4 separate regions of the Homo sapiens genome follow, and regions 2, 3 and 4 are each linked to region 1. Evidence: promoter capture Hi-C in 16 types of primary human blood cells and fetal thymus (Javierre and others, 2016). All regions are on one chromosome and are shown on one strand. The core of a region is centred on a gene start or on the middle of the fragment in contact, and the rest is flanking DNA. Distances in the headings are between cores, read along the strand shown. Region 1 holds the start of PIANP (PILR alpha associated neural protein). Region 2 overlaps LRRC23 (leucine rich repeat containing 23). Region 3 holds the start of ATN1 (atrophin 1). Region 4 overlaps NCAPD2 (non-SMC condensin I complex subunit D2).

Region 1 (6,967 bases), core at 1,149-3,648:
AATTTAGAGCCAAGAACCTTGTGATTCCTTGAGCACCTACCGCTAGGGAGGGAGTCTGAGGGTAGGGGGAGGGATGGGGAAGTCAATCTGAGCAAGCCAGTGAGTGTGTGTACGTGCAGGGGGGCCCTTCCAGCCCTCCCAGCCCTCCCACCCCTCTGGCAGTGCCAGGCATTTGTCTTATGATTAGCCCCAGGAGTCTGCATCTTCAGGAGAAAGGAATGAAGAGCTGGAGGGATGGAAGGAAAGAGACAGAAAGAGAGAGGTGAGTGGGAGAAAAACTACAGAATATAATTTTTGCTCTTAATGTTTAATCATCCAAGTGCATAGGTGCCCTCTGAAGGGAGGTGGAGTCAGGAAGAAACCACCCCCTCAAATGTGGCTCTCCTGGGTAAAGAATCCTGGGAAAATCGGGATGGTTGGTTTTGAAAGAGAAAGGGTGTGTTCTCAGAGCTGAGGGTGGTGGATCCAGGAGGGGCAGGCTCCCCAGAGGGAGTGAAGATAGGATACCCGTTTCCTGTGGATTCTGGGTCTAAATCTGCCCAATGGGCCAGACGCAGTGGCTCACGCCTGTAATCCTAGCACTTTGGGAAGCCAAGGCGGGTGGATCACCTGAGATCAGGAGTTCGAGACTAGCTTGGCCAACATAGTGAAACCCCGTGTCTACTAAAAATACAAAAATTAGCCGGGGGTAGTGGTGGGCGCCTGCAATCCCAGCTATTCAGAGGGCTGAGGCAGAAGAATCCCTTGAACCTGGGAGGCGGAGGTTGCAGTGAGCTGAGATCACACCATTGCACTCCAGTCTGGGCAACAAGAGCGAGACTCCGACTCAAAAAATAAAATAAATAAATCTGCCCATTGAATCTTCCCAGAGAACAACAAGGGAACAAGATGGGAAAGTCACGGGAAGGGCGTGGGGAAGCAGGCAGTGGGAGAGATGGGAAGGGGTGAAGGGCTGGGAGATGGAAGGCTGGTTAAGAGTGAGAGAGGAGAAATGTGAAGAGGAAGCTGGCCTGGAGTGCAGGGTGAGAGAGAGCAGGCAGTCCTGAAAAAGAGAGAACTGGGAAGAGAGGAGGAGAGTGGGTACAGAAGACTCGAACTGTGGAGGATGCCGAAGGGAGGAAAGGATGAGAGAAAAGGTCAGGGAGGGGAAACGGAGAGGATGAAGGGGTCACAGGTGCAGGGGAAGAAGGGGCAGGAGGAGAAGGAGAGAGCGGTCCAGGCAGGACAGCCAGAGGAGTGGAGAGTAAGGGGATGGGAGAAAAGGGGGGAAAGCCCAGGATGGGGAGAAAGGAAGTGGGGAAGGAGAGAACATAAATGCTTAAGGAAAAATGACACGAGGAACGGGCTGGGAAGCAGAGGCGGGAGCAGCAAAGATGGAGGAGTTCGGAATTGCTCCCCCAAATGTAAAGGGATGTGGAGATACCGAAAGACATAGGGATGGGGGCATGGTGGGAAGAAGGGAGAGAGAGGGGAAAGGAAGAAAGCTAGAGGGAGGGAGCGAGGCGTGTAGAGCGAACCAGTGAAGCGGAGAAGGGCTCCCAGGGCGCATCTGTGGCCAGCTGACTCTAGGACTATCGCCCCTCCGCCTGTGCATCCCCACCCCCAGCCAGCGCCAACCCAGTCCCTGGGCCCCGCACAGCTTCAGCCGCCCCCTCCAGGAAGCCCGCAGTCCCCGGGCTGGCGCGCCACCCCCACCCCTCTCCCAGCTTCTCACCGACCTGTTGTGCGCAGGAGACGAGCTGGGGGTGGGGCAGGAGCCTCGGGGTGCGGGAGCCGGGCCCCAGCCCCAGCGTGGCCCCCATCCCACCCATCCCGCAGGCCCGCACTCCCCGCACAGGGCTGGAGAGCGGCGAGAGTGGGGGGAGACGAGGAAAAGGAGGTCGGCGAAGGGACCCCGAGGCAGGGAGTGCCGAGAGCGGACTGGGGACCCGAAGCAGGAGACTGCGCGGAGCCGCCCGCCGAGCCGAGGCGGGATGGAGGCAGCCGCGGGGACGGGGACGGCTGCGCCAGGGAGGGCGGGAGCGAGCCAGGACCGCGGAGGGATGGAGAGCCCTTCGGGGAAGGGGCGCTGGGAGGCTGGAGGCCTTGTCCCGGGCGAGGGACCGCGTCGGGAGGGGCAGGAGGCGCAGGGCGCGGAGCCGGGAAGGGCAGGGCCGGGCTCCCCGCGGGTGGGGGCGTGGGGGTCCCTCTCACTCACCTGCATGCTTGGCGCGGCGGCGCGACGACTGCGGGCGCTCGGGACTGAGCGGGGCTGGGGGGTCGCAGGAGCGGGCGGGGTGCGGGGCATGGTGGGGAGGTTTGGCCCGCGGCAGGGCGCTGGAGCGGGTGGGGGGCGGGCGCCTGGGGCGCGGGGCGGCGGCGGTGGGAGATGCTCGCCTCGGCTCGGCTCGGCTCGGCTCGGCTGGGCTCGGCGCGGCGGCTGGGACCGCTCCGTCTCCGTCTCCGCCTCCCCCCCGCGCCGGAGGCCACGCACGGTTTAACCCTCCTGCTGCCGCGCTGCAGGAGTCAAGCCAGGCTATGTCCCAGGTGGAGGGCTGAAGAGGCTGGCAGGGTCCAGCGACCGTCCGCTTCCCTGGGTTCTGATGGCAGTCTCCCCACCTCCTTCACCCCAACTCCAGGGACACCCATGGTCGCCTCAGTCAGTTTCTGAGATTCTGAGTCACTCAATGCTCTGCATTCCCAACTTTGTTCTTTTGTATTGTGTTTTGTAGAGATGAGGTCTCGCTGTGTTGCCCAGCCCGGTCTCGAACGCCTGGGCTCAAGCGATCCTTCCCGCTCAGCTTCCCGGAGTGCTGGGATTACAGGCGTGAGTCACCACTGCCTGTCCCCCAACTTGGTTTTGCCCGCTGTAGAAAGTGCCTGAGGTCAAGGCTGGGGGCAAGGGGTGGAGGAAAGGACTGGGGAGGAAGGACCTTGCACCATCTTTGGATTATCCCCACAGCTTGATCCCCTATTTCACTCTGGCCCTGCTACCATGCATTAAGTGGATCACGTCGAAATTCCTGGGCTTTTCCAGCACTGGAATACCTAGACTCCGTGCTGTGACTTACAAGACCCTATATAACCTGGCTCTTAGGTGGCTCTCTGATTGCCTTTCCTAAAGATTTCTATGCTTCAGCCACATGGGACCTGGTGGATTTCCTGGTTGGAGACAGGTTTAACCTGCCTCAGGGCCTTTGCACTTGCTGTTCCCTCAGTAATACATTTCCCTGGCTTTTCACAATGACTTACTGTTTTCATTCCAGTCTCACTTAGATCCAACGCCTTCTGGGAGGCCTTCCCTAATGTCTCTATCAAAAGTAGCCTCTCCTGCCCCTTCTCCCACCACCTGGATCCCATCCCTCTCTACCACACTACGCTGTTTTTCCTCAGGGCACTTCCAGGACACCACACTCTCCTCATTTCCCTCCAACCTCACTGACTGTTCTTAGTCTTCCTCGGGTGACCTCTAAATGTTGGAGCCTCCTAGGGCTTAGTCCTTGGCCATTCTCTCTTTCCACATTCTCTGTCCAGTGATCTCATCCGGTCCCAGGGCTTAAATACTATGTAAATGTCAGTGAGTCCTAAATTTATATCCAGAGCGCCAGACTCATTTATCCGACAGCCTACTTGACATCTCCACTTGGATGTCTAATAGCCATGCAAAGCTAACTTGACTAAAATAGATGTCTTGAATTCCCCCACCCCCAATCCATTTTTCTCCCAGTGATCCCCATCCTGAGGCTTCACAACTACTAGTTGTTCAGGCTAAAAATCTAGGAAACATCCCTCCCTTCCCCTTTTTTTCACTGATTCTCTCCCTGTATCTAATTCACCAACAAGTCCTGTGGGCTCTGCGTCCAAAATATATCCCGAATTCATCTCCTTCTATCTTTATTGCTATAGTCTTGGTCTAAGCCATCATGTCTCATCCAGATTATCATAATAGCTTCCTCACTGGTCCCTGCTTCTGCCCTTGTCTTTACAAACTAGTTTTTCCTATATTGATAATATTTTAAAAATCAAAAGCATGTCATGCTCTTCTCTGCTTAAAATATTCGAGTGGTTTTTCATTACACTTGGAATAAATCTGAACTCCTTGTAAGGAGAAGCCCACCAGCCTGTACCCACCTCATACACAGTGCTCCTGCTGGATCAGACTACTTGCTGTTCTGTAACATCAGAAGTCATTCTCTTAGCATCCCTGCACTTTTTTTTTTTCTCGAGACAGTGTGTCTCTCTGTTGCCCAGGCTGGAGTGCAATGGCACGATCTCAGTTTACTGCAACCTCCGCCTCCCAGGGTCAAGCAATTCTCCTGCCTCAGCTTCCCAAGTAGCTAGCGTGTGCATGCAGGGGGGCCCTTCCAGCCTTCCCAGCCCTCCCACCCCTCTGGCAGTGCCCACTAGTGCCCTGCTAATTTTTGTATTTTTTGTAGAGACAGGGTTTCACCATGTTGGCCAGGCTAGTCTTGAACTCCTGACCTCAAATGATCCACCAGCCTTGGCCTCACGAAGTTCTGAGATTACAGGCGTGAGCCACTGCGCCCGGCCCCTCCACTTTTGATTCCCTCTTCCTGGAATGTTTTGCCACCCCTCTCCCCATCTTCACCTGGTTGGCTCCTTCATCCCTGCTCAAAATCTAAAGTGGCCCCCACTCTGTTTCCTCATTATGTTTCATTGTCTTTCCAACTCATCACTTTCTATTTGTTTATTTATTTATTGAGATGGAGTTTTGCTCTCGCAGCCCAGGCTGGAGTGCGATGGTGCAATCTTGGCTCACCGCAACCTCTGCCTCCTGGGTTCAAGCGATTCTCCTGCCTCAGCCTCCCAAATAGCTGGGATTACAGGTGCACACCACCATGCCTGGCTAATTTTTGTAATTTTAGTGGAGACGGGGTTTCACCATGTTGGCCAGGCTGGTCTCGAACTCCTGACCTCAGGTGATCCTCCCACCTCGGCCTCCCAAAGTGCTGGGATTACAGGCGTGAGCCGCCACGCCTGGCCCGACTCATCACTTTCTGAAATGATCATATATGTGTTTACTATTTACTGTCTGCTCTCTCCTGCCCCCCTATACATTAGAGAGCCAAGATCTTATTTGTCTTGTTTACCGTGTATCCCTACTCCTACTGCAGTGCCTTGGAATGTAGTAGATGCTCAACATGTACCACTTAATGAACTTCTTCTGGGACCCCTGCCCACTCTGAACTCTTTTAATTCTCTCCTCTGCTGTCCTCCAGCCATTCCTCTCTAGCTGCCTGCCCCCTACTGATCTCTGCCCTACGCCAAATGCTTCAGGTTGAGCCCTTGCTCATGTCCACACCCCTTCAGATCCTCCTCCTTCATTTGCTGCATTGTGACCCGTTGTCAGCCTGGCGCTCCTGCCTCGTGAAAGGAAGGAAGCCTGCTGTTCTGACGAGCATCTGCAGCAGCTGCCCTCTTGCTTGCGTGTCCCTGACAGCCCTTCATTTGAGGTCAGAACAGCAGCGAGTGAGCCGTCCTCCTAGTGTCTCCCAGTGGTGGGGGAAAGACAAGGCACACTGGATGTGAACCCGGCCAAGGGGCCATGTGAGTCAGGTGCGCAACTCCTGCCACCTCCTGGGCCCCTTAAGCCCCAGAGCATCCTGAGGATATGCTCCAGGTGAACTCATGTCACTGGCATGGACCAAGTTTATCAAGTGAATATTCATGTTCAGTGTAAGTGCCTTTGACACTGAGGACCTTGGGTCATTAATTATTTCTATTATTCTTGATTCATTCATTCTTTCCACATTTTTTTTTTTTTTGAAACAGGGTCTCACTCTGTTGCCCAGGCTGGAGTGTAGTGGCACAATCATGGCTCACTGCAGCCTTGACCTCCTGGCTCAAGCAATCCTCCCACCTCAGCCCCCAAGTATCTGGGACTACATGTGTGTGCCACCATGCCAGGCTAATTTGTGGTGGTGGTTGTTTTTTTTTGTTTTTTGTTTTTGTTTTTTTTTTTTGGCAGAGATGAGATTTTGCCACGTTGTCCAGGCTGGTCATACAAATATGGTCATTTAAATGGTGTGACACGCCAGGTACCGTGCCATGGCTGGGGATACAGCGGAGAGCAAGAATGAAGTCATCACTGTCTTGGTGGAGCTTACAGTCTGGTAGGGAGACAGTGCAGTGATAAATGTGACTTCAGATGAATTTGAGGACCTACCCACACTCTACAGTCTCTATACAGTCTCTATACATCCTTGTCCTGTTTCTGGCTCTGCTGGTATCTTCATCACTATCTCTGGGCTCATTTTTAATTAATTTATTTATTTTCAGAGACGGGGTTTCGCCGTGTTGGCCAGGCTGGTCTCGAACTCTTGAGCTCAAGCAATCCTCCCACCTTGGCTTCCCAAAGTGTTGGAATTACAGGCGTGAGCCACCGTGACTGGGCTCATTTAGGGTGAATTTCTGTTTTCTGTCCTCAAATATCCAATATTCTTCTTCTGAACCCTTCTCTCTCTCAGCTGATGATCTTGCTTGCTGCTTTTCTGAGAAAATGGAAACAAGCAGGAGAAAACTTCCCCACTCCCACCAGCACACCCTTAGCCCCACTGCACCTACTGTGGGGAATCTCAAACCCTGCCACCCACCCAAAGTCATCACTCCTGCAAATGTCCCTCCCTCTCCTGCAGCATCACTCTTCTCCTGTCTACTTTTTTTTTTTTTTTTTGAGACAGTCTCGCTCTTTCGCCCAGGCTGGAGTGCAGTGGCGCTATCTCGGCTCACTGCAAGCTCCGCCTCCCGGGTTCACGCCATTCTCCTGCCTCAGCCTCCCGAGTAGCTGGGACTACAGGCGCCCACCACCGCGCCCGGCAAATTTTTTGTATTTTTAGTAGAGACGGGGTTTCACCGTGTTAGCCAGGATGGTCTCGATCTCTTGACCTCGTGATCCGCCCGCCTCGGCCTCCCAAAGTGCTGAGATTACAGGCGTGAGCCACCGCGCCCGGCCCTCCTCCTGTCTACT
Region 2 (6,822 bases), core at 384-2,883, 210 kb after region 1:
GTTATAAGCTAGGGACTGTGGATGAAAACCGATATATATATTATATATTATATAATTATATATTATATATAAATATATATTATATATTATATAATTATATATTATATATAATATATAATTACATATAATATATAATATATAATTATATATTATATATTATATATTATATATAAAATATATAATATATAATTATATATTATATATAATATATAATTATATATAATATATATAATTAGATATAATATATAATTATATATTATATATAATTATATATAATATATTATATATAATTATATATAATACATAAATATATATAATAGTATATATTATATATAATATATATAATATATAAATATATATAATAGTATATTATATATAATATATTTTATATAATATATAAATATTATATATAATAGTATATTATATATAATATATAAATATTATATATAATAGTATATAATATATAATATATAATATATATTTTATATATTATATAATATATTATATATTATATATATAATAACTCCACAGGAAGCCACTGAAATATTTAGTCTTTTAGACTCTTAAGCTTCGTTATTCTGGGATGGTGCTGATGCCAATCCTCAGTGGTGGCCTGGGGGCTCCTGGGCCGGGTAGGGGTGGGTTGAAGCATCTCCTCCATCCCAAGTGGCTTTGATGGGGCGAATGGTAGAGGGTTACTGCTGACCTTTCTCTGGGATGGCAGCTTCTCCTGAACTTCTTTACTTTCTATACTGATCTCTACTCACCCCCACTCCTTTCTTCCACTCCTCCCTCTCTACCTCTTGGATTTCCTCTTTTGCTTTATCTCATTCTGACTTCTCTTTCTTCCCTATCCCTGCTCCCTCTCAATCAATCCACTGTGCCCTGGGGGTCTAGGCCCAAAACATGCTGAAGAAGGTGGAAGGCTTGGAGGATCTGAGCAATCTCACCACCTTGCATCTTCGAGACAACCAGATTGACACCCTGAGTGGCTTCTCCAGAGAAATGAAATCATTGCAGTACCTCAACCTGAGGTATGCACCCTCTCCAAGCCCCACCTTGCCCCTACCCCTGACCAGGTGCAGCTTTTGAGTCTGTGTTCTTCCCTGGCCCAATCCCCCAGTCCTAGCCCACAGCTGGATTCTCAAGGAAAGCCCGGCTTTCCTTCCTTTCTTCTGCACTGAGTTGCAACACTAAATCCCTTATAGCTTGTGACCCCTGAATTTTTATTCATTCAATCCACAATTATTGAGAATGTGCTATGTGCCAGGCCTTGTGCTGTGTTTTGGGGACATTTAAAGCAATCAGAGGCTGGGCATGGTGGTTCATGCCTGTACTCCCAGCACTTTAGGAGGAAGGATCACTTGAGGCCAGGAGTTCAGGACCAGCCTGGGCAACCTAGTGAGACCATGTTTCTACAGAAGTGAAAATAATGGCCCGGCATGGTGGCTCACACCTGTAGTTCTAGCACTTTGGGAAGCCGAAGTGGGCAGATCGTTGGAGCCTAGGAGTTCAAGACCAGTCTGGGCAACATGGCAAAATCCCATCTCTACCAAAAATACAAAAATTAGCCAGGCATGGTGACAGGCACCTGTAATCCCAGCTACTCAGGAGACTTAGGCGGGAGGATCGCTGGAGCCTCGAGGTGGAGTTTGCAGTGAGCTGAGATAAAGCCGCTGCACTCCAGCCTGGGTGACAGAGCCAGACCCTGCCTCAAAAACAAAACAAAAATAAAATATTAAATAAAAATTAAAATATTAAATTAAAAATAAAAATTAACTGAGCCTGGTGGTGCACACCTGTGGTTTCAGCTACTCAGGAGGCTGAGGTTGGAGGATCACTTGAGCCCAGGAGTTCAAGGTTGCAGTGAGCCATGATTGTGCCACTGCACTCCAGCCTGGGTGACAGAGTGAGCTGTCTCTAAAAGAAAGAAAGGAATCAGAGGTGATTCCTGTTCCTAAGGGGCTCACAGTCTGGCTCCAACTCTTTTTTCCTCACCCTATCCTATATAAGTTTCCACTGCCCTTCTCCATTTCCTCGGTCCCAATTCACCTTCCCATTTCCTGCCTCTCTTCTCCTGAGCCCCACCTGTAAGGGATGACCTTTTTACTGATTAAAAAAACACAAGATGTGCTCAGATTTGAGGAGAGAAGGACATTTGTAAGAAAATCTTTTGGTAGAAAGGCACTGAAGATCAGCAACTCTTGTCGGATGGAGGACTTTATGTGTGTTTATTTCAGCAAACATGTAAGGAAACTGCCTCTTTCCTTAGTCAACAAGACCAGATTCTTGAGCTGGTAATGGAAAGAGCATCTCCAAGTAGGGAGAGGTGGTTGCATCTGGAAGCCCCAACTCTCATCCTGACCCCCTGGGCATTCTCTTATTCATGAACTCTGCCACACGGATCTGGTGGGGTGTGTATCTGTGCCATCTTCCTGTTAATGATCTAGACAGGCATGATGGACCCTTCCTGAGTGGCTATTAAATGGGGATGTTTTGAGAGTAAGTCGGGTGTGTGTGTGGAGGGGGGTGAGGGTGTCTCAATGATTGGCAGGTGCCTCTGGGGCCAGAGATGCTAAGCATCCAACAATGTATGGCAGAGTCCAGTACAAAGTTCCTGTAGCCCTCCTGGTGAGAAACACTGCATGAGGCTCAGCACGACCATGAGATCAGGCTGAAACACTTAAATAGATTTCATAAAAGCTTAAAGCCAGAACATGAAAATAAATAAAATTCCAGGCATGGTGGCTCACGCCTGTAATCCCAGCACTTTGGGGGGGCCAAGGCAAGAGGACTGCTTGAGGCCAGGCGTTCAAGACAAACCTGGGCAACATAGTGAGACCCAGTCTCTACAAAAAATTTAAACATTAGCCAGGTGTGGTGGCACATGCCTGGAGGTACTTAGGAAGCTAAGGTGAGAGGATCACTTGAGCCCAGGAATTCAAGGCTGCAGTGAGCTATGATCATGCCACTGCACCCCCAACCGGGGTGACATAGTGAGACCCTGTCTCAATAAAAATAAAATAAAAACAGAGTATCATATAATGAGGCACATTAGGAGATGAAGTTTATTCTTCAGGTTGGGAGGCTCCAACCCATCCATAGCCTTAGGTTCTCTTTGTGGAGAGCACGAACCGAGCATCCACCACCCTAAACTCCAGCTTAGATCCCAGTTCCTTGTCCACTGACCTAGGTCCTACAGGGTGGAGTGCAGTGGCTCGATCTCGGCTCACTGTAATCTCAAACTCCTGGGGTCAAGCAATCCCTCCTCCTCAGCTAAGTAGCAAGGACTACAGGTGTATGCCATCACGCCCAGCTAATTTTTTTATTTTTAGCTTTTGTACAGATGGGGTCTCGCTATGTTGCCCAGGCTGGGTCCTACCTTCTACCCTCCATTTAGGTGTGATCACAGAAAATGTCTCTCCCTGTGAGGAAAATTTGCCCTCTCCTCCCCAGCTACAAGACAGGGTTGTGGCCTAGCTTTGCTGCACCAAAAGAACACATGAATGTATTACAGAGTAGAATATGGCACTTAGGGATTCCTTGAAGGGCAGAAGCAGGACCAGAGCGGGGTCACACAGCACCTCTGCAGTAAATCTGGCAAGGCTTGGCAGGCCAGTCCTCACAGTGTTTCTAGGGACACTGGAACCCCGAGAGTCCCCCAGAGGCCCCATTCCTAGCAACTGGCAACCAAAGCCCATTATTCCTGCATGAACCCCTCCTGACCACACTGGCAGGGGCAACATGGTGGCCAACCTGGGGGAGCTGGCCAAGCTTCGAGACCTGCCCAAGCTGCGAGCGTTGGTGCTGCTTGATAACCCATGCACGGACGAAACCAGCTACCGCCAGGAGGCCCTGGTGCAGATGCCATACCTTGAACGCCTGGACAAGGAATTCTATGAGGAGGAGGAACGGGCTGAGGCTGATGTGATTCGACAGAGGCTGAAGGAAGAAAAGGAGCAGGAGCCTGAGCCCCAGCGTGACCTGGAACCCGAACAGTCATTGATCTAGCAGCAGTTCTAGCCTCTAAAGATAGTAAGGAAGCCTGCAGGGAGGCAGTGGGAGGAGGCCAAGGGCTGGGCAGGTAGGGGAAGAGGCAAGAGGGGAAGCTGCTGCAGAAGGAGGTGGGAGAGGAAAGCATCAGACAAGCAGGACCCTTAAAGAGAGGAGGGTTAGGAGTCAGGGAGAGGAAAAGGGACCCAAGGGGCCTGGGACCAGCTGAGAAAGACTTAGGAGGCCAGAAGAGTAAGTGAAAAGAATTGGGGTGGCAGGCAGAGGAGTTGGTGGGGGGTGGGGCAGCCATACCTGACACAGAGTGAAGTCGGCTAGGAAAGGACAGGTGTGGGTGCATGGTAGGGGCTGCAGGGGAAAGTTGGTGGTGTATGCAGCTGGACCTAGGAGAGAAGCAGGAGAGGAAGATCCAGCACAAAAAATCTGAAGCTAAAAACAGGACACAGAGATGGGGGAAGAAAAGAGGGCAGAGTGAGGCAAAAAGAGACTGAAGAGATGAGGGTGGCCGCCAGGCACTTTAGATAGGGGAGAGGCTTTATTTACCTCTGTTTGTTTTTTTTTTTTTTTTTTTTTTTTTTTTGCGAGGTAGTCTTGCTTAGTCTCCAGGCTGGAGTGCAGTGGCACAATCTCAGCTCACTGCAACTTCCACCTCCTGGGTTCAAGCAATTCTCCTGCCTCAGCCTCCCGAGTAGCTGGGACTACAGGCGCATGCAACCGCGCCTGGCTAATTTTTGTATTTTTAGTAGAAACGGGGTTTCACCACGTTAGCCAGGATGGTCTGGATCTCCTGACCTCGTGATCTGCCCGCCTCCGCCTTCCAAAGTGCTGGGATTACAGGGGTGAGCCACAGCGCCTGGTCCCTATTTACTTCTGTCTTCTACCTCCAGGAGATCAAAGACGCTGGCCTTCAGACCTGATCAGACTCCCAGGGGCAGCCACCACATGTATGACAGAGAACAGAGGATGCCTGTTTTTGCCCCAAAGCTGGAAATTCATCACAACCTGAGGCCCAGGATCTGCTCTGTGCCGGTCCTCTGGGCAGTGTGGGGTGCAGAATGGGGTGCCTAGGCCTGAGCGTTGCCTGGAGCCTAGGCCGGGGGCCGCCCTCGGGCAGGCGTGGGTGAGAGCCAAGACCGCGTGGGCCGCGGGGTGCTGGTAGGAGTGGTTGGAGAGACTTGCGAAGGCGGCTGGGGTGTTCGGATTTCCAATAAAGAAACAGAGTGATGCTCCTGTGTCTGACCGGGTTTGTGAGACATTGAGGCTGTCTTGGGCTTCACTGGCAGTGTGGGCCTTCGTACCCGGGCTACAGGGGTGCGGCTCTGCCTGTTACTGTCGAGTGGGTCGGGCCGTGGGTATGAGCGCTTGTGTGCGCTGGGGCCAGGTCGTGGGTGCCCCCACCCTTCCCCCATCCTCCTCCCTTCCCCACTCCACCCTCGTCGGTCCCCCACCCGCGCTCGTACGTGCGCCTCCGCCGGCAGCTCCTGACTCATCGGGGGCTCCGGGTCACATGCGCCCGCGCGGCCCTATAGGCGCCTCCTCCGCCCGCCGCCCGGGAGCCGCAGCCGCCGCCGCCACTGCCACTCCCGCTCTCTCAGCGCCGCCGTCGCCACCGCCACCGCCACCGCCACTACCACCGTCTGAGTCTGCAGTCCCGAGGTGAAGCCCCCGCCAGGCCCAGAGCCCCTGTGGCCCCCTCCCTTCGCCGCGGCGCCCCTGCCTCCTTTACCCGGTGCCGCTGCGCACCTCTCCGCATCTCTGGCCCGGTGCAGCTGCGCACCTGCTCCGCCGCCCGCGCCCAGGGCGCCTTCCCTCCCTGGCCTTCCCCGCCCGCTGCCTTCGCTTTCTGGCCCTCTGCGCGCCTATCTCTAACTGCGCCTCTCCACCCTTGCCTGCCTCTCTCCCGGTGCTCGCCCTCATCTACGGTTCTATTTGTTTCTAAGTTGGGAGCCTCTCCGGGCGGTGCATTTTTATCCTAGAGCGTCCCTTTTGGTTTGCATTTGGGGAAATGTCTTCTCTCACCGTTCCTCACCTCCCCCAGACTTCCCTTGGACTCCCCTCTCTCCTGCTCTTCCCCACGGCGCCCCTCTCCGTTCGCGCTTCCTCCCCTCTGCTGCACGGGGGAGAGATGGAAGAAGTGGGGATCTGTCGAGGCGCAGAGGGGAGGACAGGCCCAGCTCGCCTCCACTCCCCACCGGCTCTTATCCTCTTCACTTCCCGCTGCAACCCCCAGGGACTGCAGGGCCTTTCTCAGGACCCTCTTCCCCGACACCTGTATTGCATGCGCCTTTCGCGGGAAGAGGAGGGATACACGTTTGGGAGAGAGTGGGACCTTGGGGAAGGGGCAGTGTTCAGGCAGCTGGGGTGTTAAGTTGGGGAGGTATGGGGGCTCTGGAAGAGAGGCCCAGGCAGCCCATCCTCTTCTTGGCTCCCAGGAGAAATGCAAGCCTGGCAGCCATTCCGCTCTGAGGAGATCTGGGGGAACCCCACCGGCTGGCCAAGCTGCAAAGAGGCGCGGGAACCACTGTCGTGCCCCTCCCCTCCTCACTGCAGTGTTCTCCCATCTCATCATTTGATCTTACCCCGCCCCCCACTGCAGTGACCTCCCCTTCCTCACTGCATTGACCTTCTCCTCTTCCCAGGGGGGAGGGGGAATCCCTTCTACAGCCCTAGACTGCAGCCAGCGCCTCCCTACCCACCCCCCACCCACTGCAGTAACCTCTTTCCCATCCCTCCCAGCCTCCCGCCCCGCCCATTGATCTCAGGCTCCACCCCTCTAAGCCTCTTATCTTTCTCCTTCCTTCCCTTCCACCC
Region 3 (6,292 bases), core at 2,611-5,110, 230 kb after region 1:
CGGACGCACCGCCCAGCCCGTCCGCAGCCCCGCGCCGGGTCGGGGCCTCGGGCCGGGCCATTTCGGAGGGACCGCGGCTTCGGGGAGGGGCTAGGAGGGGGGAGAGGGAGCCGACTGCCGGGGAAGGGGCGGGGGCCGCGGGCGAGGCGGCCGAGGGGCCCGGGATCGCGCGGGTGCGGGCTGCGCTAGGCGGGCGCGGGCGGCGGCGGGTCGGAACCGCGCCGAGGGCCGGGCGGGCCGCGGGGCCGGGCGGCGCGGCGGGGGCGGGCGGCGCGGCCCGGGGCATTCCGGGCGGCCAGGGGGAGGCGGCGAGCCCGGGGAGGTGGGGAGCAGAGCGGGGATCGGGGTTTGCTCCGGGGGCCGGCGGGCGATTGGGGCCAGGCGGGGAAAAGGGGGGATGGGGGCCGCCCTCCGGGGGGGTCGGGGCCGCCGCCGCCGTCGTCGCGGCGGCGACTGAGGCCGAGAAGAGGAGAGGGGGGCGGGGGAGCTGCCGCCGCCGCCCCCCAGAGGCGCCGGAGCCCGGAATCCCGCTCGGAGCCAGCCAGCCGTCCCGAGCTACCAGCAGGTAAGGTCTGCGGCCGCCTGGGCCCCGGGCCCGCGGGGTTCTGTCCCGCCCGGGCTCCGGCCTGCGGCTCCCCACCCCCACCCCTCCCAGTTCCCCCTCCTGCCGCCGCCGCCTCCATTTGTTATTTTCCCAATCCCGTCCCCCCACTGCGGGCTCTGCCTGGCCTGAGGGCCGGGGGCTCAGGGGGTGGGGCCCGCCGAGGAGAGTCGGGGGCCAGGGTTTCGGGAGGATCGGGAAGGTGGGGAAGGAGGGAGGGTCTCCGGAGGAGGCCTGTGGGGCCAGAGGGTATCCGGGACCCGCAGACTCAAAAGAGGAGGAACATCGAGGCCGGGGTTGGCGGAGGAAAACGGGGGATGCTGTGAGTGGGGTTCCGGGCGAAGGCAGAATGGATAGGAGAGATGGCAGCGAGGTGGGGCATGAAGCCTCCAGGAAAAAGCTCCAAAGGACCAGAACACGGGTTCCGGAGCCTGGGGTTGGGGGCTTTAGGAATAGACGGGAAGTGGGAAACGGGAAAGGGGTGTGGTAGGTGGAAAGAGGGATTGTGGCTGATGAACCTGGGGGAGACGGAGGCTTGGGCAAAGAGAGGTCCATTTTTGAGAAGAGCCGGAGGTTTTCCAGCGTGGAAGAGGGAAGGCCATGTCTTTGTGACGGTTTTCATTCCCCTACTGCAGGTCACCTCTGACCCTGTTTTCCCTATCCCAGACATAGTTATTTCTTGGAGAGGGCACTGGGGCCCAGTAGTGTGGGTTATCCCAAAACTAGTGAGGAGGAAAACAGGAACACAGAAGGGGGAGTTGGGAAGAAAGGGGTTCTGGGAGGATGGAAATGGAGAATTGAGCAACCTTACAGGCACTCCAGGCAAGTTGCGACCTCCACCCTCCACCCTCCAATTTCCGGAGCGTCCGCTGCCCCTGGAGCTGTGATCTATATAGGGAGGCCTTAGTTACTGCTTTGAGCTCAAAGATCTCCCTTTGTGCATGGGCTTATTTTGACTAGGGTAGGTACCTTCAAGCTCCCTTACCTGAGGTGCTATAGGAGGGTAGGAGTTGCTTTGGCAACTGGGGTAGGGGGTAGCTGCCAGATGGACACCTGGGATGGTCTCTTGAGGGGCACCTTTTGCCACTGTGTTGCTATGGTAGTGATCCAGTGGGATGTCAGATTGGTTGGGGGGGCTTCGAATGTTTATTGGACCTCAGCCTGTGGCTGTCCTTGGGACTCTGGGCTGGGTTTTGGAGGTTGTTTCTGGATCTGTTGGTGGTTGGGAGTTTCCCCACGGTGTGCACCCTTTCATGTTGAAGTCTGTTGGAACAGGTAGATACGTTCCTTGCAGATCATAGGTGTTTCTCCAAGTCTCTCCACCTGGGCATGATGGGAGGATGAAAACGCTTCTGTTCAGGTTACACCATCTTTTGGCAGTTGGTTCTGACCTCTACCTCCCTTATTATGTTATTTTTTGTAGAGTTGTCTTTTTGCTTCTTTGCACTTTCTTTCATTTTCTAAAACTTGAATTCCTCTTTGAGCCTCCCTTCTTGAGTAACCCTTTTCCTCTTTCCCTCAACTAACCTTTGGCCTTCTTCCCTGACCTTGTAGAAATGGCTGGGCTCCCAGGCCCATCCCAGGTGAGGGTGGCCCAGGACAGAGGGCTGTGAAACAGCTTCATGCAGGGGAAATACTATAGAACAGGAGCCAGGAGACCTGTGTCTAGACCTGGCTGTGCCTCTGTGACCTTGGGCAAGTCACTTCTCTTTGAGCCTGGGCTTCATTGTTAAGATGAAGGGGCTATAGATGAGATGATCTCTGAGGCCTCTCTGAAGGTCCCGGATTCTCAGAAGGCTTAGGCCAGTGCATCGTTATCTGCTGGTCTGGGCTGCATTGTTATCTAGGAGTCACTTTGGACTGGTTTGTTAGTCTGGCAGGTCCAGAATGATGTTGGGGGCTGGGCCAATGATCCTGAAATTTAGCCTGCGAGCCCCTCCCAGAGAGCTTGTGACTCCACTGTATTCCTTCTGACATCCCATATTTCTCTCTTAATTTCTTTTCCTGTTCTTACTTAGGGGCTCTTTTTCTAGTTCTCACTTTCCTCCCAACCCAGTCTGGTCTTAATCATTTTCTTTTTAAAGTAAGGTAATGGCAGTGCGCAGTGGCTCACGCCTGTAATCCCAGCACTTTGGGAGGCTGAGGCGGGCGGATCACGAGGTCAGGCGATTGAGACCATCCTGGCTAACACGGTGAAACCCCGTCTCTAGTAAAAATACAAAAAAATTAGCCGGGCGTGGTGGCGGGCGCCTGTAGTCCCAGCTACTCAGGAGGCTGAGGCAGGAGAATGGCGTGAACCCGGGAGGTGGAGCTTGCAGTGAGCCGAGCCGAGATCGCGGCACGGCACTCCAGCCTGGGTGACAGAGTGAGACTCCGTCTCAATAAATAAATAAATAAATAAATAAATAAAATAAAGCAAGGTAATGAAGGTGAATGTGCTTAGTATGTGGCCAGATACAGAGTAGGTGCTCTGTAATATTAGTTACAGTGATTGCCTGCTAGGAGTGTAGGCTGGTGCTAAAACATGACCCAGGTCTAGAAAGACACACAATCCACCCCTAACTCCTTTCCTCGTCTGCCACTCCTTATCCCCAGGATTACTTGTTCTTTTATGACTGCTTTTCTCCTTCAAAGCTTCTCATTGCTAGTTTTTATCAGATTTCAGGTGATTAAAAAAGAAGGGCATACTATGATTGCTGTGTTCCTCAGGTACATTCCTGTGTTTCTCTGACCTTTTGGATCCCCTAACCTAACTGACTTGGTGAACAGGTTCTGTGATGGGGAAGGGAGATGGACACCCTTCTCTAGGAGGGCTGGCAAAAATACACCAATCACAAATAGTCATCTTTGTTGTGCTTTTTGTTTAAGATTGTTTTCCTCTTTTGCTATGGTGGGTGTTGTTCTTCGGATTTTTTTTTTTTTTTGGTTGATAGTATTTTAAAACCAGTCTACATAACAACTAAAAAATGTGGGAAAATAGCTGTAGTTGAAAAAAAAAAAAAAAAAAAAAAGGCCGGGCATGGTGGCTCACGCCTGTAATCCCAACACTTTAGGAGGCTGAGGCAGGTGGATCATCTGAGGTCAGGAGTTCGAGACCAGCCTGGTCAACATGGTGAAACTCCGTCTCTACTAAAAATACAAAAATTAGCCAGGTGTGGTGGTGTGCGCTTGTAATCCCAGCTACTTGGGAGGCTGAGGCAGGAGAATCGCTTGAACCTGGGAGGCGGAGGTGGCAGTGAGCTGAGATCATGCCATAGCACCTCCAGCCTGGGGAACAAGAGCAAAGATCCATCTCAAAAAAAAAAAAAAGGAAAAAAAAAGAAAACTAGTTGGCCGGGCACAGTGGCTCACGCCTGTAATCCCAGCACTTGGGAAGGCCGAGGCAGGCAGATCACCTGAGGTCAGTAGTTCGAGACCACCCTGACTAACATGGTGAAACCCTGTCTCTACTAAAAATACAAAAAATTAGCCGGGTGTGGTGGTGCATGCCTGTAATCCCAGCTATTCAGGAGGCTGAGGCAGGAGAATCGCTTGAACCTGGGAGGCAGAGGTTGCAGTGAGTGAGATCACGCCACTGCACTCCAGCCTGGGCAACAAGAGTGAAACTCTGTCTCAAAAAAAAAAAAAAAAAAAAAAAAAAAGACAAGTCTACTGGGCAGAGCATCAGTTGAAAGTTCAGAAGATAGGCTCTGTCCCAGCAATTTTGTGATTCTAAGTAAATTGTGAAGTTTCCTGGAAAGGTTAGACTCACCCCTTACTGCCTGCATCAGTATGGTTCCGTGGAGGTGAGTGAGAATTACTGTGTTTCTTGGGAAAAAATACACTACAGAATATGGACATGCCGTTTACCTAGCAGGCCTCCAACTCAGAATAGAATACATGGGTAAGCTTAGTCTGTTCCCACTGGAGCTAGCAGCACTTAATTCAGGAAGAAAGACCTACTGATGTTAGTGGGTTTAAAGGTCAATCACAAGAAGAGCGCACACACATCAGTGGAAAGGAAGAAAACAGTAAGAAAATACCATTTTTGCTCTCAAAAGATCTTACAATCAGTAATTTGGAGGGACTTGACACTTAGCAAGAAATACAAACAAGTGCAAATGAATACAGCTGGCTATAGGGATTTGGATAAAGATAGATACCTGCTGATAGACAGATACGGATGGATTGGCTGTGAGAAACTGTGTAACCCAGTCTACACCAAGTAGGAGGATAGGCTTAAAAACTGGTACATCTGTGTTGTTTGCTCACGGATATTTTGAGTCTTTAATCATTCATGTGAAAACCCTGACTTTTCCTCTAGCCTTAGGGAGCTCAAGTACTAGAGAATGGGTCCTTTATGGGGCTCTCAAAAATGAAGTTCTACAATTTGGGGCTACCTAGGTTTAGTCTTGGGATTGGTAGGGCTGTGTTCCTTTGTATTATAGAATGGGACATTCTTCTTCTACCTACTCTGATGTGAGAAAAGATTCTTTTCATATCTCTGTGACTGATCTAGGCCTTCTGAGAATTCTCCCCAGCAACTTCTGAGGAGAATACAGCAAAGTATAGAAGAAAGAGCATGGGCTTTGAAGTCACCGACATGGGTTTGATTCTGGCTCTGTCACTGGTTCCTCACTGTGTGAGGTTGGGCTAGTCACAATCACAATCTTTGAGCCTCAGTTCCCTCACCTATATAATGAGGGTAATAATGCTTACCATTCAGGGTTGGTTGTAAATATTAAATGAAATCATGTATGTGAAGGGCTTGATATAAAGAAGGTATTCAATAAATTCATACTTCAATGTCATTTCTTTTTTCTTTTTTTTTTTTTGAGACAGAGTCTTACTCTGTCACCCAGGCTGGAGTGCAGTGGCATGATCTCGGCTCACTGCAACCTCTGCCTCCCAGGTTCAAGTGATTTGCTTGCCTCAGCCTCCTGAGTAGCTGGGATTACAGGCACGTGCCACCACGCCTGGCTGGGTTTCACCATGTTGGCTAGGCTGGTCTTGAACTCCTGACCTTGTGGTCCATCCACCTAGGCCTCCCAAAGTGCTGGAATTATAGACATGAGCCACCATGCCCCGCTCCATTTCTTTATGTTCCTTTGTAAGGCTCCGTGGAATGTGTGTGTTCACAAATATCCTTTAGGGATCATGAAGGGTAAACTGTGTGATCTCCTGGATTGGGGCTTGTAGGTACATCCGAATTTTCTGCCCTCTACAGAGATGAAAGAGATTATACTTCGAGCAGAATCTGCCTCCCTTTTAGATAGCTAAGGTAGCCCATGGGGCATGCCAGCAATGTCTTGTGGTATCTGTACCTCTTGGCCCAAAGGCTTAGGGTTGGGCCGCTTGCTCAGTTCTCTGACAAGCAGAATAGTATTCCTTTGTGACTCTGTTCTCCAAGTTGGAGACTCTGATGGTTTCCTTCTAACAGGTTTCATTGAAAACAGATCCTGCAAAAGTTCCAGGTGCCCACACTGGAAACTTGGAGATCCTGCTTCCCAGACCACAGCTGTGGGGAACTTGGGGTGGAGCAGAGAAGTTTCTGTATTCAGCTGCCCAGGCAGAGGAGAATGGGGTCTCCACAGCCTGAAGAATGAAGACACGACAGAATAAAGACTCGGTGAGTTAAAATGAGAGACATGAAAGATGAGGGGCGGGGCAGGCAAGCTAGGAGGAAGGGTCTAGAGAAGAAGAACAAATAAT
Region 4 (6,629 bases), core at 2,914-5,413, 180 kb before region 1:
AATCCTGTCTCTACTAAAAATACAAAAATTAGCTGGGTGTGGTGGCGGGCACCTGTAATCCCAGCTGCTTGGGAGGCTGAGGCAGGAGAATCACTTGAACCCGGGAGTCAGAGGTTGCAGTGAGCCGAGATGGCGCCACAGCACTCCAGCCTGGGCAACAGAGCAAGACTCCGTCTCAAAAACAAACAAACAACCACAATAACAAAGGCTTTGAGACCTCAGCTGAAGGGTAGTTAATAAATGCTTTTCAAATGTGTGTTGGTGAGTGGATGTGATTTTTTTATTCAGCTACTACCATGCTTTCCTGTGTGAGCCCTATGAGGAAAAATTGGTTTTGGCCCTTGTTCTAGCATTCTCTGAGCAACAAGTCCTCTTTGGGATTCAGCTTTCTCCTGTGACCTTGGGAGTGAATACCTAGGCAGTTAATGGAAAAAGTTATGGCCAAGCACAAGCAAGCTTCGCCTTGACTAAAGGTTTGACCCCTCTATGCTTCTCTCTCTTAGAATTACATGATGCGTAATGCTGTGCTGGCAGCCATGGCGGAGATGGTGCTGCAGGTTCTCAGTGGCGATCAACTGGAAGCAGCAGCCCGAGACACCAGAGACCAGTTCTTGGATACTTTACAAGCCCATGGCCATGATGTCAACTCCTTTGTGCGGAGCCGTGTTTTGCAGCTCTTCACCCGAATTGTCCAGCAGAAGGTAACCAACTTCTATGTGGCAAAAACATATGGTACCTCTCCATATACCAGTGTAAAGAGGAATCCAGTGTTGAAGATAAATATCTGCCCCAAAGAGGTCTAGAATTCACATTTTTATTATCAGTAGTAAAAGTCTTCCTCTACCAAGGACGAGGATATCTGGCTCCCTTTAAGGACTGTAATGTGTCTTACCACTACAAGGAGTACTCCTAATCTATATTCTGTAGAAAGGGTTTTTAGAGTGAGTGGGTAGCTCAGTTTAGAGTATACTTAAAGATCATCTTGAACAAAATGGATGATGTGGGACTTGAGCAGATTCTTCTCTTCCTACCCTACACAGGCTCTCCCCCTGACACGTTTCCAGGCAGTGGTGGCTTTAGCTGTGGGACGTCTGGCAGACAAGTCAGTGCTAGTATGTAAAAATGCCATCCAGCTGCTGGCCAGTTTTCTAGCCAATAATCCTTTCTCCTGCAAGGTAAGTAGACTTGGTCCACCAAAAGAGAAGGAATTAAATGGAAACAGGGATGAAATTATGTCATTTACTGACCCTGCTATTCATTTTACCTGATAGCTTAGTGATGCTGACCTTGCCGGACCACTGCAGAAGGAGACCCAGAAATTACAAGAGATGAGGGCCCAGAGGCGAACTGCAGCAGCTTGTAAGTAGTTACTGCCTTGGAGTCCTAATGCCAGACAGGCTTCTCCTTGCAGTCAGAAACTCTAGTGAAAGAGACTAAGTGACACTCTCATTTAGCTGCAGTGCTGGACCCAGAGGAGGAGTGGGAAGCCATGCTGCCAGAGTTGAAGTCTACCCTGCAGCAGCTTCTACAGCTTCCCCAGGGAGAGGAGGAGATTCCTGAGCAAATTGCCAATACAGAGACAACTGAAGATGTGAAAGGACGCATCTATCAACTGCTTGCCAAAGCTAGTTACAAGTAGGCAAAAGAATGGGATATTCTTCGTGATCTGTTTATGTTTAGAGTTAACCTTTGAGAAACTTACATAATGTGTCTTTTAAATTAACTGCACACAGATATGCTGCCACCAGGTGATGGTAGATGTTTTCATGTAGTAATGGTCTGACCATAGGCCTAGTCCACAATTAAGCATGTGTTTCTACTTTATAAATGTTTAAAAAAACTACTGAAACAATTAAATGTTAACAGTATTATAATCAAACATGAGTCCTCCTTCAATTGAAGAAGAGCACCTATAAATAAGTTCTAGTTGTATGATCTTGAATAAGTTGCTTAACTTTCTGTGCCTCGGTTTCATTATCTATAAAATAAGAAATTGATTAGATCTTATGATCTCTAAGGACTTTCTAATTCTAAATTTCATGAACTAATAATATCAAACATGCTTAATACTACCTTAATCTTCAAACCTAGTATGAATCCTGATCTTAGAGAAAAGATTTCTCCTAGTGTTTTTGTGACTCTAGAACTTAACAACAAAAGCCCTTACAGCCGTCAACAAGTTTTTTTTTTTTTTTTTTTTTTTTTTTTTTGAGATGGAGTCTCACTCACTCTGTTGCCCAGGCTGCAGTACAGTGACACGATCTTGGCTCACTGCAACCTCTGCCTCCCAGGTTCAAGCAATTCTCGTGCCTCAGCCTCCCAAGTAGCTGGGACCACAGGCGCGCACCACCACACCGCACTAATTTTTTTATTTTTAGTAGAGACAGGGTTTCACCATATTGGCCAGGCTGGTCTTGAACTCCTGACCTCAGGTGATCCACCCATCTCAGCCTCCCAAAGTGCCATGATTACAGGCGTGAGCCACCGCACTCGGCTGCCAACAAGTATTCTTAAACCTCAGCCACAAGTTATTTGTTATTTATTTACTTCTTACCTAATTGGGCTGAATTTTTTTTTTGGAGACGGAGTCTTGCTCTGTTGCCCAGGCTGGAGTGCAGTGGTGCGATCTTGGCTCACTGCAACCTCCACCTCCTGGGTTCACGCCATTCTCCTGCCTCAGCCTCCCGAGTAGCTGGGACTACAGGCGCCCGCCACCACGCCCGGCTAATTTTTTTTTTTATATTTTTAGTAGAGACGGGGTTTCACCGTGTTAGCCAGGATGGTCTCAATCTCCTGACCTCGTGATCCGCCTGCCTCGGCCTCCCAAAGTGCTGGGATTACAGGCTTGAGCCACCGTGCCCGGCTTGGGCTGTTTTTAGAAGGCTAGAGAGTGGCTTGTTTGCCCTATGACTCCCTTATGTTACTTTAGTGTCTCTCTTTTTATTTTGCTAAAGCAAAAATAGAGACTATAGTTTTATAAGTGCATGTTCCACCAAGCATTCTAGTATTTTCTCCTGTCAATTAGAAAAGGATTGTTTGTTTTTGAGACAGAATCTCACTGTTGCCCAGGCTGGAGTACAGTAGCGCAATCACAGCTCACTGCAGCCTCTCACTGTAGCCTCAACCCTGCTGGGCTCAAGCGATCTCCCACATTAGCCTCCTGAGTAGCCTGGTTAATTTATTTATAATTTGTAGCTGGGATTACAGGTACACACCACCAGGCCTGGCCTTTGCCAGCCTGGGCAACGTGGCAAGAAGATAACATGTAGACAAGCAGTCAAACATGTATTCTTTTTTTCCCCCTTTTATATGACTGATAGAATTCTCTGCCCACTGATCTACCATCTTGTTTTTTTCACTTAACTATGTGTCTCAGTGGTTTTTAAAAATATTTATGGCTGGGTGCAATGGCTCATGCCTGTAATCCCAGCTACTTGGGAGGCTGAGGCAGGAGAATTGCTTGAACCCAGGAAGCAGAGGTTGCAGTGAGCTGAGATTGCTCCGCTACACTCTACCCTGGGTGACAGAGGAAGAGTCCATCTCAAAAAAAAAAAAAAATTTATAGATGGCCAGGTGCAGTGGCTCACACCTGTAATCCCAGCACCTTGGGAGCCCAAAGCTGGTGGATCTCTTGAGGCCAGGAGTTTGAGGCCAGCCTGGCCAACGTGGCGAAATGGCGAAACCCATCTCTGCTAAAATTACAAAAATTGGCCAGGTATGGTGGCACGTACCTGTAATCCTAGCTATTTGGGGAGCTGAGGCATGAGAATCACTCAAACCTAGGAAGCAGAGGTTATAGTGAGCCAAGATCATGCCACTACACTTCAGCCTGGGTGACAGAACAAGACTCTGTCTCTAAAAAAAAAAATATATATATATATATACACATATATATTTATACATAAATAGTTTCCCACTCTCCTCTTTTTTTGAGAGAGAGAGTGTCTCACTCTTTTGCCCATGCTGGAGTACAGTGGTATGATCACAACTCACTGCAGCTTTGATCTCCCAGGCTCAAGTGATCCTCCCACCTCAGCTCCCTCGAGTAGCTGAGACCACAGGCACACACCATTACACCCACAGGCACACACCATCACACCCACAGGCACACACCATCACACCCACAGGCATACACCATCACACCCACAGGCACACACCATCACACCCGGCTAACTTTTTTTACTTTTTGTATAGTTGGGTCTCCCTGTGTTGCCCAGACTGATCTCAAATTCCTGGGCTCACGTGTCCCCATTATTTTTTATGACTACATAGAATCTTATTGTCTGGATGTGCCTGAATTAACTAATTATTGAAAGTTTATTGTTTCTAAACTTAGGAAAGTTTTTAAACAGGTGTTTGGAGTAGGTTTATGATTTTAAAACTTTAAAAAGCCTTATTGGAGTTTTTTTGAAGACTGTAGTAATGCCTTGTAGGTTCAGAAATAGGAAAAGTGTTTGCAGATGAGCAGTCAGGGGAAAAAAATAGGCAAAGTGTTTTGAGCCCTACCCCTTAGTAGGTGCTGTAACAACTTTTTAAGCATGTTAAGTGCTCCTTTTCTCTGGGCAGTAGGTCCAGGGACTTGATAGAATCATGAGGTAAGCTCCCTTACAAACGGCTGCAGTGACATTCTTCTGGGTACTGACAGGCTGGTGTTCTTTCAGAAAGGCCATCATTCTCACTCGAGAAGCCACAGGCCACTTCCAGGAGTCCGAACCCTTCAGTCATATAGACCCAGAGGAGTCAGAGGAGACCAGGCTCTTGAATATCTTAGGACTTATCTTCAAAGGTAATCATTTTCCTTCTTCAGTCAATAAATAACACATGTCAACTGGTATTTACTGAGCATTAACTTTATGCCATCATTGGCCTGGTTAACAGAACCTGGTGCTGAAGAGCCCAGAGATGAATTGGCATTACTTTTGCTCTGGAATGGAAGCAGCCCACGGGCCTAAGATTGATAGTCACAGGGTGACTGTCCAGACCATAGCGGTCTTTAGGTATGGTTTTTGAGAAATTTAGATATTTTAGAGTAAGTTTTAATTTCATATCTTCACATTGTGAAAAGAGATATCCAGGGCCAGATGTCGTGGCTTATGCCTGTAATCCTAACACTTTGGGAGGCCAAGGCAGGAGGATTGCTTGAGCCCAGGAGTTGAAAATCAGCCTGAGCAACATGACGAAACCCCCATCTCTACAAGGGATACCAAAAAAAAATTAGCCAGGTGCGGTGGCACGCACCTGTAGTCCCAACTGCTCAGGAGCTGAAGTGAGAGAATCACCTTAGCCCGGGGAAGTTGAGGCTGCAGTGAGCGGTGATCATTGCCACTGCACAGCCTAGGCAACAGAGTGAGACCCCATCTCAAAAGAAAAGAAGAAGGAAAATAAATAAGTAAATATCCAGGAATGTTGACAGCTGTTGGATTCCCCTGTATCCCCTTGAACGAAACCATCCTGTACTTCTCTAACTCCTTAGGCCCAGCAGCTTCCACACAAGAAAAGAATCCCCGGGAGTCTACAGGAAACATGGTCACAGGACAGACTGTCTGTAAAAATAAACCCAATATGTCGGATCCTGAGGAATCCAGGGGAAATGATGAACTAGTGAAGCAGGAGATGCTGGTACAGTATCTGCAGGATGCCTACAGCTTCTCCCGGAAGATTACAGAGGCCATTGGCATCATCAGCAAGATGATGTATGAAAACACAACTACAGGTATGCCAGAGTCCCTTTCTATAAGGACAGCCTTGGGGTTCTTTTGGATTTTTTAATTTTTTAAATTTTTATTAACAATAGAGATGGGGCCTTCCTTTGTTGCTCAGGCTGGTCTCCAACTCCTGGGCTCAGGCAATTCTTCTGCGTCAGCCTCCCAAAGTGCTGGTATTACAGGTGTGAGCCACTGCACCCGGCCATGGATCTTGGAGTTCTTTTCCATATTTTATTGATATATCTATCTGCTCCTTTAAAAGGCAGGGGTTCTCGGCTGGGCGCGATGGCTCATGCCTGTAATCCCTACAAAACTGGGAGGCCAAAGCAGGAAGACAGGTTGAGGCCAGGAGTTCGAGAGCAGCCTGGGCAACATAGCAAGACCCCATCTCTACAAAGAAACAAAAACTAACTGGGCGTGATGGCACGCACCTGTAGTTCCAGCTACTCGGAAGGCTGGGCAGGAGGATTGCTTGAGCCCGGGAGTTTGAGGCTACAGTGAGCTGTGGTCATGCCACTGCACTCTAGCCGGAGCAACAGAATAAGAACCTGTGTCTTAAGAAAAGAAAAAAAAAAGGCAGGGGTTCTTTTTTTCTGTTTGCTTCCTCTAGCCACTTACAGCTTATACATTTTAATGCATATAGTATTTCATGATAAGGCATCATAGGAGGAGTCGACATTCTCAGGGAAAATGCGGAAGGCCTCCATTTGCATCTTGCTACATTCAGAAAGGTTCTGTCGTTAGGTATTGGGGGAGTTTTGTGAAGTAGATAGGTGACATTTGTACATGTTCTCTCAGTGGTGCAGGAGGTGATTGAATTCTTTGTGATGGTCTTCCAATTTGGGGTACCCCAGGCCCTGTTTGGGGTGCGCCGTATGCTGCCTCTCATCTGGTCTAAGGAGCCTGGTGTCCGGGAAGCCGTGC

Evidence for each region. The method cuts DNA at HindIII sites, captures the fragments that hold promoters and counts their contacts. A CHiCAGO score of 5 or more calls a contact.
Region 2: a contact is called between a fragment that was not itself captured here and the fragment with the promoter of PIANP in region 1, in 1 of 17 cell types (naive CD4 T cells). The highest score is 5.3, in naive CD4 T cells.
Region 3: a contact is called between a fragment that was not itself captured here and the fragment with the promoter of PIANP in region 1, in 1 of 17 cell types (non-activated CD4 T cells). The highest score is 5.7, in non-activated CD4 T cells.
Region 4: a contact is called between a fragment that was not itself captured here and the fragment with the promoter of PIANP in region 1, in 1 of 17 cell types (monocytes). The highest score is 5.3, in monocytes.

What each region holds. Positions count from the first base shown.
Region 1 is chr12:6,698,417-6,705,383 of GRCh38, forward strand. It overlaps PIANP (PILR alpha associated neural protein), which reads right to left and starts at 2,399. Exons shown (of 5, transcript NM_001244014.2): 1 at 2,198-2,399. RefSeq lists an enhancer at 1,179-1,680. The HindIII fragment of the contact is 12,862 bases long and covers 1-6,967 here.
Region 2 is chr12:6,908,993-6,915,814 of GRCh38, forward strand. It overlaps LRRC23 (leucine rich repeat containing 23), which reads left to right. Exons shown (of 8, transcript NM_001135217.2): 6 at 898-1,034; 7 at 3,738-4,035; 8 at 4,899-5,237. The coding sequence ends at 4,011. ENO2 (enolase 2) reads left to right here and starts at 5,588. Exons shown (of 12, transcript NM_001975.3): 1 at 5,588-5,667. RefSeq lists enhancers at 4,991-5,060, 5,091-5,260, 5,939-6,580, 6,581-6,822 and silencers at 5,371-5,860, 5,392-5,582. The HindIII fragment of the contact is 2,135 bases long and covers 567-2,701 here.
Region 3 is chr12:6,927,820-6,934,111 of GRCh38, forward strand. ATN1 (atrophin 1) reads left to right here and starts at 140. Exons shown (of 10, transcript NM_001940.4): 1 at 140-565; 2 at 6,021-6,209. The coding sequence starts at 6,183. RefSeq lists a silencer at 1-138. The HindIII fragment of the contact is 1,254 bases long and covers 3,234-4,487 here.
Region 4 is chr12:6,516,325-6,522,953 of GRCh38, forward strand. It overlaps NCAPD2 (non-SMC condensin I complex subunit D2), which reads left to right. Exons shown (of 32, transcript NM_014865.4): 10 at 504-701; 11 at 1,041-1,175; 12 at 1,272-1,359; 13 at 1,455-1,635; 14 at 4,662-4,786; 15 at 5,474-5,713; 16 at 6,504-6,629. Among named protein-coding and RNA genes, the nearest start is that of GAPDH-DT, 15 kb to the right of the region's middle. The HindIII fragment of the contact is 7,418 bases long and covers 455-6,629 here.